2 separate regions of the Homo sapiens genome follow, and region 1 is linked to region 2. The links are contacts of gene promoters, found by promoter capture Hi-C in human tissues and cell types (Jung and others, 2019). All regions are on one chromosome and are shown on one strand. Each heading gives the region's core, a stretch centred on a gene start or on the middle of the fragment in contact. The rest is flanking DNA. Distances are from core to core; before and after follow the strand shown. Region 1 has its middle 7.0 kb from the start of LINC02986. Region 2 holds the start of ZNF704 (zinc finger protein 704).

Evidence for each region. Contacts are between HindIII fragments. The study calls those that stand out against the background at their distance.
Region 1: a fragment that was not itself captured here is called in contact with the fragment with the promoter of ZNF704 in region 2 in 1 of the 25 tissues and cell types used here (thymus).

What each region holds. Positions count from the first base shown.
Region 1 is chr8:80,529,994-80,535,390 of GRCh38, forward strand. No RefSeq gene overlaps it. Among named protein-coding and RNA genes, the nearest start is that of LINC02986, 7.0 kb to the right of the region's middle. The HindIII fragment of the contact is 4,459 bases long and covers 232-4,690 here.
Region 2 is chr8:80,873,352-80,879,164 of GRCh38, forward strand. ZNF704 (zinc finger protein 704) reads right to left here and starts at 1,430. Exons shown (of 9, transcript NM_001033723.3): 1 at 1,220-1,430. RefSeq lists a silencer at 109-309. The HindIII fragment of the contact is 4,011 bases long and covers 1-3,440 here.

The DNA.
Region 1 (5,397 bases), core at 1,211-3,710, 340 kb before region 2:
CCTAATTTGGGTCACAGTTCTTTAGTTTCTGTTGGATGTCCTCAAGGTCTTTAGATTTACATTTTACTGTACGGAGTCTCACCATGGGCTGATGTTGCATAGTAAAATCACTTTCAGAAAAATTACAACCTCAGCTTTTCTGAAGATATTTAATGCATGCCAGCCATGTTAACACTGTTTGATGAGGTGGTGTCTAGCTGATTTCATCATGTCTCATCAACATGTATGTGTCTCTGTTAACTAAGATCAATAGAATCTTAGAGCTGAAGGAATGTTAGAAACAAATACTCTGTACTTTATCCAGCCTCTGCTTGAACTCATGCCATAAATGTGTACCTCCCACTTACTACCTCATATAACAGGTCATATTATCTTGAGGTCCTATCAGTTCTTCCCTACATTTGAGGCAGGTGGAAATCTGCCTCTCTACAACTTCCACTGGATAATCATTTCATCCCCTGAAGCCACTCAGATTAAGTTTGAGACTACACATAATGGTTTATGTAACAGTGGAGATTGGAAGGGAGAGAGGAGTGCTTGGGATCTTAAAATTTTTCTATGCCTAAAAAACAATACTCTAGGTTTTCTTTCTTTCTTTTGAGAGAGGATCTTGCTTTGTTGCCCAGGCTGAAGTGCAGTGGCACAATTGTATTTCACTGTAGCCTTGAACTCTTAAGCTCAAGTGATCCTTCTGCCTCAGCCTTCTGAGTAGCTGGGACTACAGGCATGCTCCACCACTCCCAGCTAATTTTTTTTTATTTTTTGTAGCAACAAGGTCACACTATGTTGTCCAGGCTGGTCTCCAACTCCTGACCTCATGCAATCCTCCTGCCTCGGCCTCCCCAAGTGCTAGGATTACTGGTGTAAGCCACCACACCCAGCCTCTGTTTTCATTTCTGTAAGAATAATGTGAGAAATCCACGCTGTTTACCCTTTTTCAGTTGAATGTTTTACTTTTCAAGACTAAGAATTGAATATTTGATATCAAAAATTGATGCCCAAAAATACATTTTAAAGAGAGGCATCAAGAATTATTTTTTATAAACTAGGATGTTAATTTGCTGGCACTGGTATAACACTTATCTTGGAGAAGCAAGTTTAATCTTAAGTTTGCAGTTTGATATCAAAATTTAAATGTTGCTTAATCCCAGGCATTCAAGAATTTCATAATTAATTGACTTAAGGCAGTGTAATTTTAACATTCATAAATTTATGCAATTCCTTTAGAAAATGTATTACAGGGATGATGAGAGGTTTTTTCTTTAATTGCATTTTAGATTATAGTCTAAAAGAAATGAGGAATATTTCAGTATTTATTATTAAATTCTTGTAAAACTTCAAGTCCCTCAAGCCCAAGTCATTCGCCTCTTTAGCAGCAGGATAGATTCAAAATTATAGCTACTTTGTTATTTTTATGCTGTCCTTCTTTTGAAAAACATTAAGAGTATATGTCTAGTGCATTTGTGTCACTAAGATGGAAGAATTTGAATATTCTCACTAGCTAATTTACATCCTAAAAGTTATCAATGCTCATTAGCAATTTTTGAACTTAAAAATATGAGTTAGGAAATTCCCTAATAATAAACACCCAAATGCATTTTCTAAGGCTTATTGTGTGCCGTTTGAAAGCTACCACCATAGATGTCATTGTTCTCTTGGCATAAAATCTACGAATATGAGAGAGCTGAGAATCCTAAGACCATCCTTCCTGTCTAGGTGATTCATTTTATTGCCATTTGCAGCAATTGATTGATATGCGTGACAAAGGGAAGTTTTTACTCTTCAAGCATCTATCACTCAGTAGCATCATGCCAATTTGCTGTAAGTTTTATGTTTAATGTAAGTCATTTCCTTATAGTATCAGTGTAACTCTAGACTTCTAAATGTTGGGAAACTAAGTGCAAATGATACAGACATGCAGTATTTTTTGCAAGCAGGAAATTGATAAATATGCATTAGCTGTAGTGGTAAATATGCATTTACCACTGTAGAAGTTTGTTTTCTGCATTTATGATGTAAATAACTTGAAAAATCAGATTTGAGAATGTTTCCAGTATATTATACTGTAATTAATGTCCTTTCTAGTGGCATATTTTAAAAAATAGTACCTCCTTTATCACCATAATTCATTGTTGGAGATGACTAATGGAGTAATTGCAAAGGCAGAATGTAGCATTTATATATGCTAAAGAAAGAGACTCAGTTTTTATTTTTTAACCACATGCACTCACAGAAAACCTAATTGTACCATTAAAGAAAAATCGCAAGCAATTGAAGCTAAAGATTGATGTACTATGTAATTGAGTCCCATCATAATAATTTAAGTATGTTTAAAGCATTTTTATTTTGGAATTAATAATTAGAACATGGCATATATTTAAGGCCTTTATATTTCAATTTCAGAGATGAAAGCTTTTAAAGACTTCTGAGAAGCGTAGTCATAGCTCATGAACAGGACTCTGTCATGGACATTGGAGAGGGAATGTAGGAGATTCTTACGAGGCACAATAGATGGAAAATATTCCTCAAGCAAAAATTGTCATGATTTGTTGATGTCATTTAGAAAGGTTTCAGAATAAACTACAGCTTCATATGAACTGGCTTTACTTCTTTGAGCAGGAAAAGTTGGTGAATAATTGGATAATTTTTTTCTTTAATATATCCAGAACATTTGGTATATTCCATCACTATTGGTATCATTTAGATTATGTATATTTATTTAGCTCTATTAGAAAACTTTTGTTTTTTCTTTAGTAGAGAGTGATCTAAATAATCTCGTTTAATTATTTATAATGTGAATTTTAAAAGCGATTGAACTTTTTATTTTCCCTTTTTGCGTTTGTGCTTGATGAGTGTTCCATACATTCTTTGCTTTCATCTCTGAGTTCCTACTTAGTCCTTTGCTTACTTTCTTCTGATCTTTGGCTAACTCTTGGGAGTTATTTTTCTAGCTAAATTCTTTTAACTACATCTAGCCATGTTTTAGATATAAAGACAAAGCTGAAGACTCACTGTATCTTCAAGATAACCTAAAATAAATTGGAATCCTATTTTATTTGCTAAAAATAATCTCGATGTTTAAATTTTATTCTAATGTTAACCATGTAAATTTACTACTGGATTTTGAATACTTTACTTCCATGAATAGTTTCTTCATAGTATATTTTCCTCTGCCTTAAATTTGGCCATTTTGCCCTGACTATGACCTGTCTTGTTTAAGCCTAACTGGCTAACAAATGCAGAGCGAACCTCAAAAGGAGAGCATTGTTTTCACTTTTAAATAACCTTCTTCAGGGATTTTCAAACTGTGCTCTAGGGTCCTAGGGGCTCTTTGAAGATGCCTCTCTAGCCTGTCCGGGAAGGACACAGCAGAGTAGGTGGGGCCCTGGGCCTTCAGCTAAACCTCAACTACAGCAGCTTCACTTTTATCTTATTTGTTAGGCTTTCAGGGTTTTGTGCTTAAAAAAAATTTTTTTAACCATTAATTTAAAAACACTCATGAATGATAATAATAATAGTAGCTTTTCTTTATAGAGCACATATCTTGTCCCAGACCCCGCTTTAAATATTAAAAATATTTAAATATTTTTTTAAAAATCCCTCTAAAATGTGCTTTCATCATCCCTGTTTTACAAATTAAGAAACTGAGACTTAAGGAAATAAGCAATTTACCCACAGCGTCATAGCTACTAAGTGACAGATTCTGAATTCAAATTTGGGTGCGTCAATTAATGTATTAGTTTAAGCCAGGAATGACAAATACAGGGTAAGTGTACCCTCACCCCATATTCCCACACCTGAGGCAGACAGGACTAATGGATGAAAACAGTCTTTTTTGCTAATCACCAACACAGCCTTAGAATCTTTCTCAGCAAGGTGCTATGGGCCGTCAGTCCAAATCTATTGGTTGTGGCATTAAATGAGGCCTATTTACTTCCCCTACTTTAAGGTGAGATATTTGTGGCCCCACACTTCAGAATAGGAAGTCTCTTCAGCCCTAAAAGTGTTTGCCAGTTGATTGTTTTGATATTACTAGAAAAACACCAAATTATCTTTGATCCTAGATGTACTTTATCATAATGAAGTTTTCTGTGAACTAAAATCCCTAACTGTATCATCTTCATTCTGACCACCTTCTAATACAGAAGTTTTGTTTCTGTATTTATATATTTGTAATCTGTATAATTTATACATTGATAATTATAAACACCATACAGTCCTCATAATCAGGATCAGTACGGGTTTTTAAAAAACAAAAAAACATTCACTTTGAGTAGCCTAGTGGAATAAAGACCTAAAGTAATTTATATTCTGAGACCTAATATTTTAGCTGTGGAGTGGAGGTGGTGAGGGAGAGGATGGAGAACTCATGCTTGGGGTAAGTCAGCCAGTTTCCATATAGCTGAGAATTTAGTGGTTTGAATAACCTTCACTGTTTCCACTACCAGCATGCCCTGCCCAAGAATGTCATAGCCACAGGGCTGGGTGAATGCCCAAACATTTTAAAAAAGGAGTATACACAACCAACCCCCAGCTGATTTTTTCAACTGCTCTTGCCAGGAGGGAACCAGTAGTTCCTGGGCTGTACCCATTCTTACCAGGGAGAGCTGGGTGCAATTAAAGTTTTTCCTGTTAGGTGCAAGACTTTTTGAATGACTCATCATAGTTCCTGCTTAAGACGTGTCAAAGAGGCCCAAGGCTATATTTAGGAACTTACTATGAAATTGCCTGTCAGTTCCAACCAATTTTTCCAATATAGTATATATGAAGAGTTAGTAGCAAGTAACTTTAAATACATGAAAAGGTTTTTGTTGTCATTTTTTGTTGTTGCTGTAAACTGGTATTGAAGATTTTCTTAAACGGATGGACATTCCTTTCATTGTGAAATGATTTAACACCCATTCAGCATACACATGACTATACTGGAATGACCCTCATATGACCATTGTCATGGAACCCATTAAATTCTTGTTTAAAAAAAGTTTGAATATGTCTTAAAATGTCTTCTATATGAATAAAAAGGATCTTCCTAAAAGCTCTTTCTGATGCACTTTTTTTTCTTTTTTTTTTTGAGACGGAGTTTCGCTCTTGTTACCCAGGCTGGAATGCAGTGGCACAATCTCGGCTCACTGCAACCTCTGCCTCCTAGGTTCAAGCGATTCTCCTGCCTCAGCCTCCCGATTAGCTGGGATTACAGGCATGCGCCACCACGCCTGACTAATTTTGTATTTTTAGTAGAGACGGGGTTTCTCCAGGTTGGTCAGGCTGGTCTCGAACTCCCGACCTCAGGTGATCCGCCTGCCTCAGCCTCCCAAAGTGCTGGGATTACAGGCGTGAGCCCGTATCAGAGGCGCCTGGCCTCTGATGCACTCTTGAGTATTTTTGTAAAATTAGAGA
Region 2 (5,813 bases), core at 180-2,679:
AAGGCGCAGGCAAATCAACAGTTCCTCGCGCTGCCCCGCGCGGCCGCCCGCGCCGCCTGACACACCCCTCCTGGCCGGGTCTCTCCCCGGCGCCGCTGACCGTCCTCGGCCAGGCGCCTTGCCCCGGGGCCCGGGCCCGTCCCCCTCCCCGGGCTGGCGGGTCCCACGCGCGCCACCGCGCCCAACACGCACCTTCAACGCGCCCCGGGCCGGGCCCCTGGGGACTGCGTGGCCGGGTCCGAGGGGCACGAAACGCTCCTCGCCGTCCTCGTCGTCTTCGTCGCCGTCCACCACCTCGACGACCACCTCCTCGTCCTCCTCTTCCTCGTCGTCATCCTCCTCCTCCGCGCCCCCTCGGGGCTTCTCCTCCACACGCCCGAGCCCCCTCCGCCGCCTGCTCCCGCCCTCCTCGTCCTCGTCTTCCTCCCCTAGAAGCAGCAGCACCGGCGACGAGGCGGCGGCGGCGGCCCCGGTGGCCCGAGGGGGGCCGGTCCCGGCGCTGCGCGGCGGCGGCGGCAGCGGCGGCCTCCAGCTCTCCGGGGCGGGCGCCGGGGCCGGGCCCGGGACAGGGGGCGGGAGCCCGGGTAGGGCGGCTTCCTTGGCGGGCGCGGGCGCCGGCCCGGCAGGCTGCAGCGCGGCGCCCCCCCGGCGGCTGCCCAGGCTGGAGCGCTTGGCTAGACGCCGCGCCTGCATGCCTGAGCGCGGGGTTGCGGGCCGCGGCGCGGGGCCGGAGAGTTTGTCACCTCCTCTTCCTCCTCTGCCTCCGCCGGTGGCCGCAGGGCCGGGGACTCGCGGCCGCAAGGGGCTGCAGGAGCCGCCGGCCAGGACCCGCGGCTGCCACTGGCTGCAGAGGCGCGGGCGCCGCCTTCGCTGGACCGGCCGGCGGGGACGCCGGCGGCCGGCGGCTACGGCGGGGCGGCGCGGCGGCCGCGGGCGGGGGTGGGTGTGAGCGAGCGGCGCGCTGCCGCCTCCGCCGCCGCCGCCGCCGCCCGGGAGCCGCGGGCCGCGCTGCGCTCCATGCGGCCGGCGGCCGAGCCCGCGCGCGCCTCTCCCGGCCGGCTGCGCCCGCGCGCTCCGGGCCTACCGCTGCCGTGCCTCGGCGCGAGCTGTTTGTGTTGTATGTTTTCCACCACCGCCCCCCTCTTCGCGAGCCATTCCTCACAACCCTCCGGTCCCCCCGCTCAGACAAAACCCGGACTGGATTTTTTTTTTCTCTTACCCACAGTCTCCGAAAGTCTGGCGCTTCGAAGCAGTTGGCCCTGACACCAGGGCAAACGCTTAACCGCAGCCCATTCTTCCCTCCGGAGGGAGGGGAGTAGACTTCGCTGGAAGTAAGGTTGTCTGTCAAAGTTAGACTTTGAACGTAGAGATTTGCTACAAGTCATTTTAATGGACACTGATGTGCATGGCAGCTACTCCTGAGCTTGTGTGAAATCAAGGAAGGTGTACCAATCTGAGGTTTGGGATGAATTCCTAATATGAATCATCAGAGTCGCTTAGATTTTCGAAACACTGTTTCATGAGCGATTGTCTACCAATCTCACACTCTTTGAACGCACCACTCTAGGCCCTGCGATTGAGCTGCCTTGGCTCTGTGCTGAGTGTGTAGGTCTTTCAGCTTTTACTCCTGCTATTCTACCTTGAGTGCCTGATTTTAATGGCTGAATTCCAAGAAGCTTTCTGTTTGCACTGTCTGATCTGTAGACTCTCTTCTGGCATTGTTCAGGACTTTGAAGAAACAAATGGGTGGGAGTTCAAGATCGTTTGAGTTGGTTACTTAAGAAATTAATATGAAGTAAGACCAAATCTGGAAATCAAGCACATAACATGACTAATTTTGCCATTTTCTGACGATTTTTAGGTGTGATAAAGAAAATATATTTGCTATTGCGTGGGGTTAGGCTATGTAGTAAGTGGTATTTCTTCTTTTATTTATTTTAATTTTTATTTATATATATTTCTTTATTTTTCAGATGGAGTTTCGCTCTTGTTGCCAAGGCTGGAGTGCAATGTCATGGTCTGGGCTCACTGTAACCTCCGCCACCTGGGTTCAAGCGATTCTCCTGCCTCAGCCTCCTGAGTACCTGGGATTAAAGGCGCGCTCCACCATGCCATGCTAATTTTGTATTTTTCGTAGAGACAGGGTTTCACCATGTTGGCCAGGCTGGTCTCAAACTCCTGACCTCAGATGATTTGCCTGCCTTGGCCTCCCAAAGTGCTGGGATTACAGGTGTGAGCCACCGTGCCCGGCCTTAAGTCGTATTTCTTACATTCAAATCATACCCCCAATTCCATCCCTGTAGAGGAGGGCTGGGGAGGATCTTACGCATCAAATACCCTGGTAGGCACCTCCGTGGGGCCAGAATAAAAGGTGTATTCACCTTCAGTTAATTATTGTTGGACATTTAACATCATATGCTCTGTTAGACACTTGAATGGGGCTCATTAAATGCTCACTTATGGTGGCTTCCAACTGTTGAACAGGGATGATGACAAAGATTCTAAAATGAACTTTTTGTTCTCCCTGAATCAGATTAGCTTCCTGATGTACCTATTTCAGGTGATGAAACTCTCATTATAATCATTTGAGCCCAAAATAGCGGTATCATTTTAACTCCCTTCTCTACCTTATCCCTAGAGGCAATTGCCCACAAGTCCAACCCATTGTTCTTTCTAAAATGCATTTTGAATCCACCCCTTCCTTTCCATTCCCAAAGCTCTTACAGCATTTTGTGACTTCAAAAGTGGAAGTTTCTAACAGTTCTACACACCCATTTTCTCACCCACACACCCTCCCTTTCCCTCCTCAGATGCCACCACCAGATTTATGTTTCCGAAACCCCATTTAGATCACACCATTTTCTTGTTGGACTTTATATTTGTAAATATTCTGTTCAGGAATTCAGAGAGAAGAAAACAGAACATTAAGAGATGGGTGTGTCTGATCAAAGCATGGAATAGCAGGGGCTAGCCAATAAGTGAATAATCAGTATCAGCTAGAGTGTGCAAAGAATTAAGAAAGAACATTAAGGTGGTTTCATCCCAATTGGAAGAAATTTAGCTTCGTTGATTTGGGAGATGATTTTAGAGTGAGGCAGCAGGATCTTTCTCTGGCCATGAAAAGGAAAGATCGGGGCAAGGGGTGGGCAGACAGGTATGGAGGAGGTGGAGGAGGACAAAGGTGTGAGGCAAGCTGGCTAGTAGTTAGGCACATGGTCTCAGGAGCACCTAGGTCCGAATCCTGACTCTGGAACTTACCAGCTTTACTTTTACTCATCCTCTTTCTGTGCCTGTTTCCTCATCTGTGAAATGGGGATCATAGTAGTAAAGTTGTTTTGCAGAGTAATGAGTGAATAAATGCAATCAGCTTACAAGAGTGCCTGGGACAAGCTAGGGTTTATATGCGGGCTTATCATACTAAACATTGTAATGGTAGGTAAACAAGGTGGCTTGGGATACTCTCAGAGAATAACAAGGTAGCTCTCTTTTAAGTAAGCTCAGTAATGTCAGTAACTAGCAAAATGTGCTTTTAAAGACCAACAACTTGTCATCGGAGGACCATGGTCAGGCCAAGCATGTAGCTTTTTGTGCCTAAAATTGCTATAGATGAAAGAAAGTAAATGTTTTCCTGAGAACCTAGAGGAAATACAGAGTTAAATGAATTGGTGATTGGCATTTGTGACTTAGTGAAAGATGATACACTATTGTACATTCTTTTAAAATTGCTGTATATGCTTTGAAATCAGCTTATTGTTTCTCTTAGGCCACTTCAATAGACTTCATAGACATCCATTCCCTGGCCCCACATTGCTGGAAAGGCTGCCTCTGAATGGGAAAAAAAAAAAAAAAAAAAAAAAAAAAAGACCTGGCCTTGGCTTTCAAACCATTAAATGAAGGCTAATGTCAAAAAAGAGGTTTCACCCAAGCTGGGCTTTGAGGGATGAGAAGGATCTGTTCAGGCAGGGAGAGCAGCATTGTCTAGGCAAGTGCAGGCCACTGAAGACCACCCTCATTAAATCAGAGGACACTTAGTGGGAATAAAATCAAATTAACTCATCAGGAATCAAGAAAAGATCTCATGATGTGGGCACATGACACACTACATGCATGACATGGGCTCAGAAGTCAAAAAGTATCTTGTGATGCCAAGCAAGTGGGGAAGAGTCATTGCTGCTTCTTTCCCCCACATTCCCTAAGTGTAACACATTTTTTTCTTCCAAAACTGGGAGCGCTTGCCACTCAGAATGAGGAAATGTGCCTCTGAGCCATGGGATAAAGAAGGAGCCCCTCCAGAACAGTTGGATTGAACACATCCTCATCTAAAACATTTCATCGTTCATTCTGCATGGATTTGTTGAGTCCTGACAAGTGCCAGGTCTTGTTCTTGGTGCTGGCGTGCAGCAGCGAACAAAATAACCCTCCCTCGGGGAGGAAGCAGACAATAATCAAAGAAGATAAGTGAACAATATGATTTTGTGGAGGCATTAAGTGTCTACATGAAAAAGTAAGGGAAAAATAAAAGGAGGGGTAGAAGGTGCTGGAGGTTTAGTATAAAGAAATGTGCATTTCAAAGCGTATTTCTTTATATTAAAACAGACATAAGAATAGTGTGAAGTTTAGTGTGAACTTTGAATGAAAACTCGCAGCCCTGGACTCTGTCTTCTTCCTGCAGATAGAATCCATTCTCCCCTACTGTCCGCGTGCTTTGGTCAAAGTTTGAGAAGCACTGCTGCGGAAGAACGAGAGTAGGCTTTGGAGTGAGCATCACTCCCTAAACACATAGTAGCTGGCTGGCTCCTGTCTGGTTTCTTCAGATCTCCAGTGATTCTTAAACCTTTGAGTTCTGAGCCCTAAAGATAACTAAAACATTTTTTTTACATGTATCAGAAAGAAAGAGAAAGAAAGGAAGGAAGGAAGGAAGGAAGGAAGGAAGGAAGGAAGGAAGGAAGGAAGGAAGGAAGAAAATCAGGCTCAATTTGACATTATGTTCAGTGTTTTTTTAAAATTTAAGATTCAGCAAAATAATCATGTTTCCAAAATCAAGAGGTGTAACCATAGCCAGAACAAAACATATAACAAATTTGTACCCACTGGTGGTAGTTCTTTTTTGTCCCTGTGAAACTTTAATAGTTGGATTTGTTGAGATTAGTAGCTCCTTTTAAAAATTATTTTAAAAGTAAAAGTAAAATTTTGCCCTTTAAAAAGCTTATGAAAGTAAGATTAGCTTAGTTTTTCCACAGTTCTGGGAAACTTAAAAATGATTTCATTTGATGACTGTCATCCCACCGTATGAAAAATAGATTAAGGTTAAGAGAATAACTCATCTATTACAACCTTCAGGCTGAAAGCCTGTCTAAGTCAAGCATAATCTCCACCCAGATAAATGTTTCTTCCATGAGCAATTAACTTAAACTCTCTTTCAAAACACACAGTACTTTCAAAATACTAGTTCCTTACAATACCTCTCAAAGACTTAGGTTTTTTTTTTAGTGAGTGTTAAAATGATAGCATTGCCTTCTTATTTATGTAACACATATTTACTATTTCAGTAGGTGCAATTTTGTCTTTGTTGTTTCCTGATCAGTTTAGTCATCTCATATTGGCACTTGAGAGGCAATAAATAGAACGCTGGATTGAGATTCCAGAGATTTGAGTTGAATCATACTGTGGGGATTATTAGCCATGGAACACTAGTTAAGTCCCCTGATCTCTGCAGAGTTCACAACTCTAATATGAATGAGTTGTGCTCCCCAAGGAGCTCTCTCATTTTAACTCTCAAGTTCCATGATATAAAATGTCAACTTGAAGTCTGT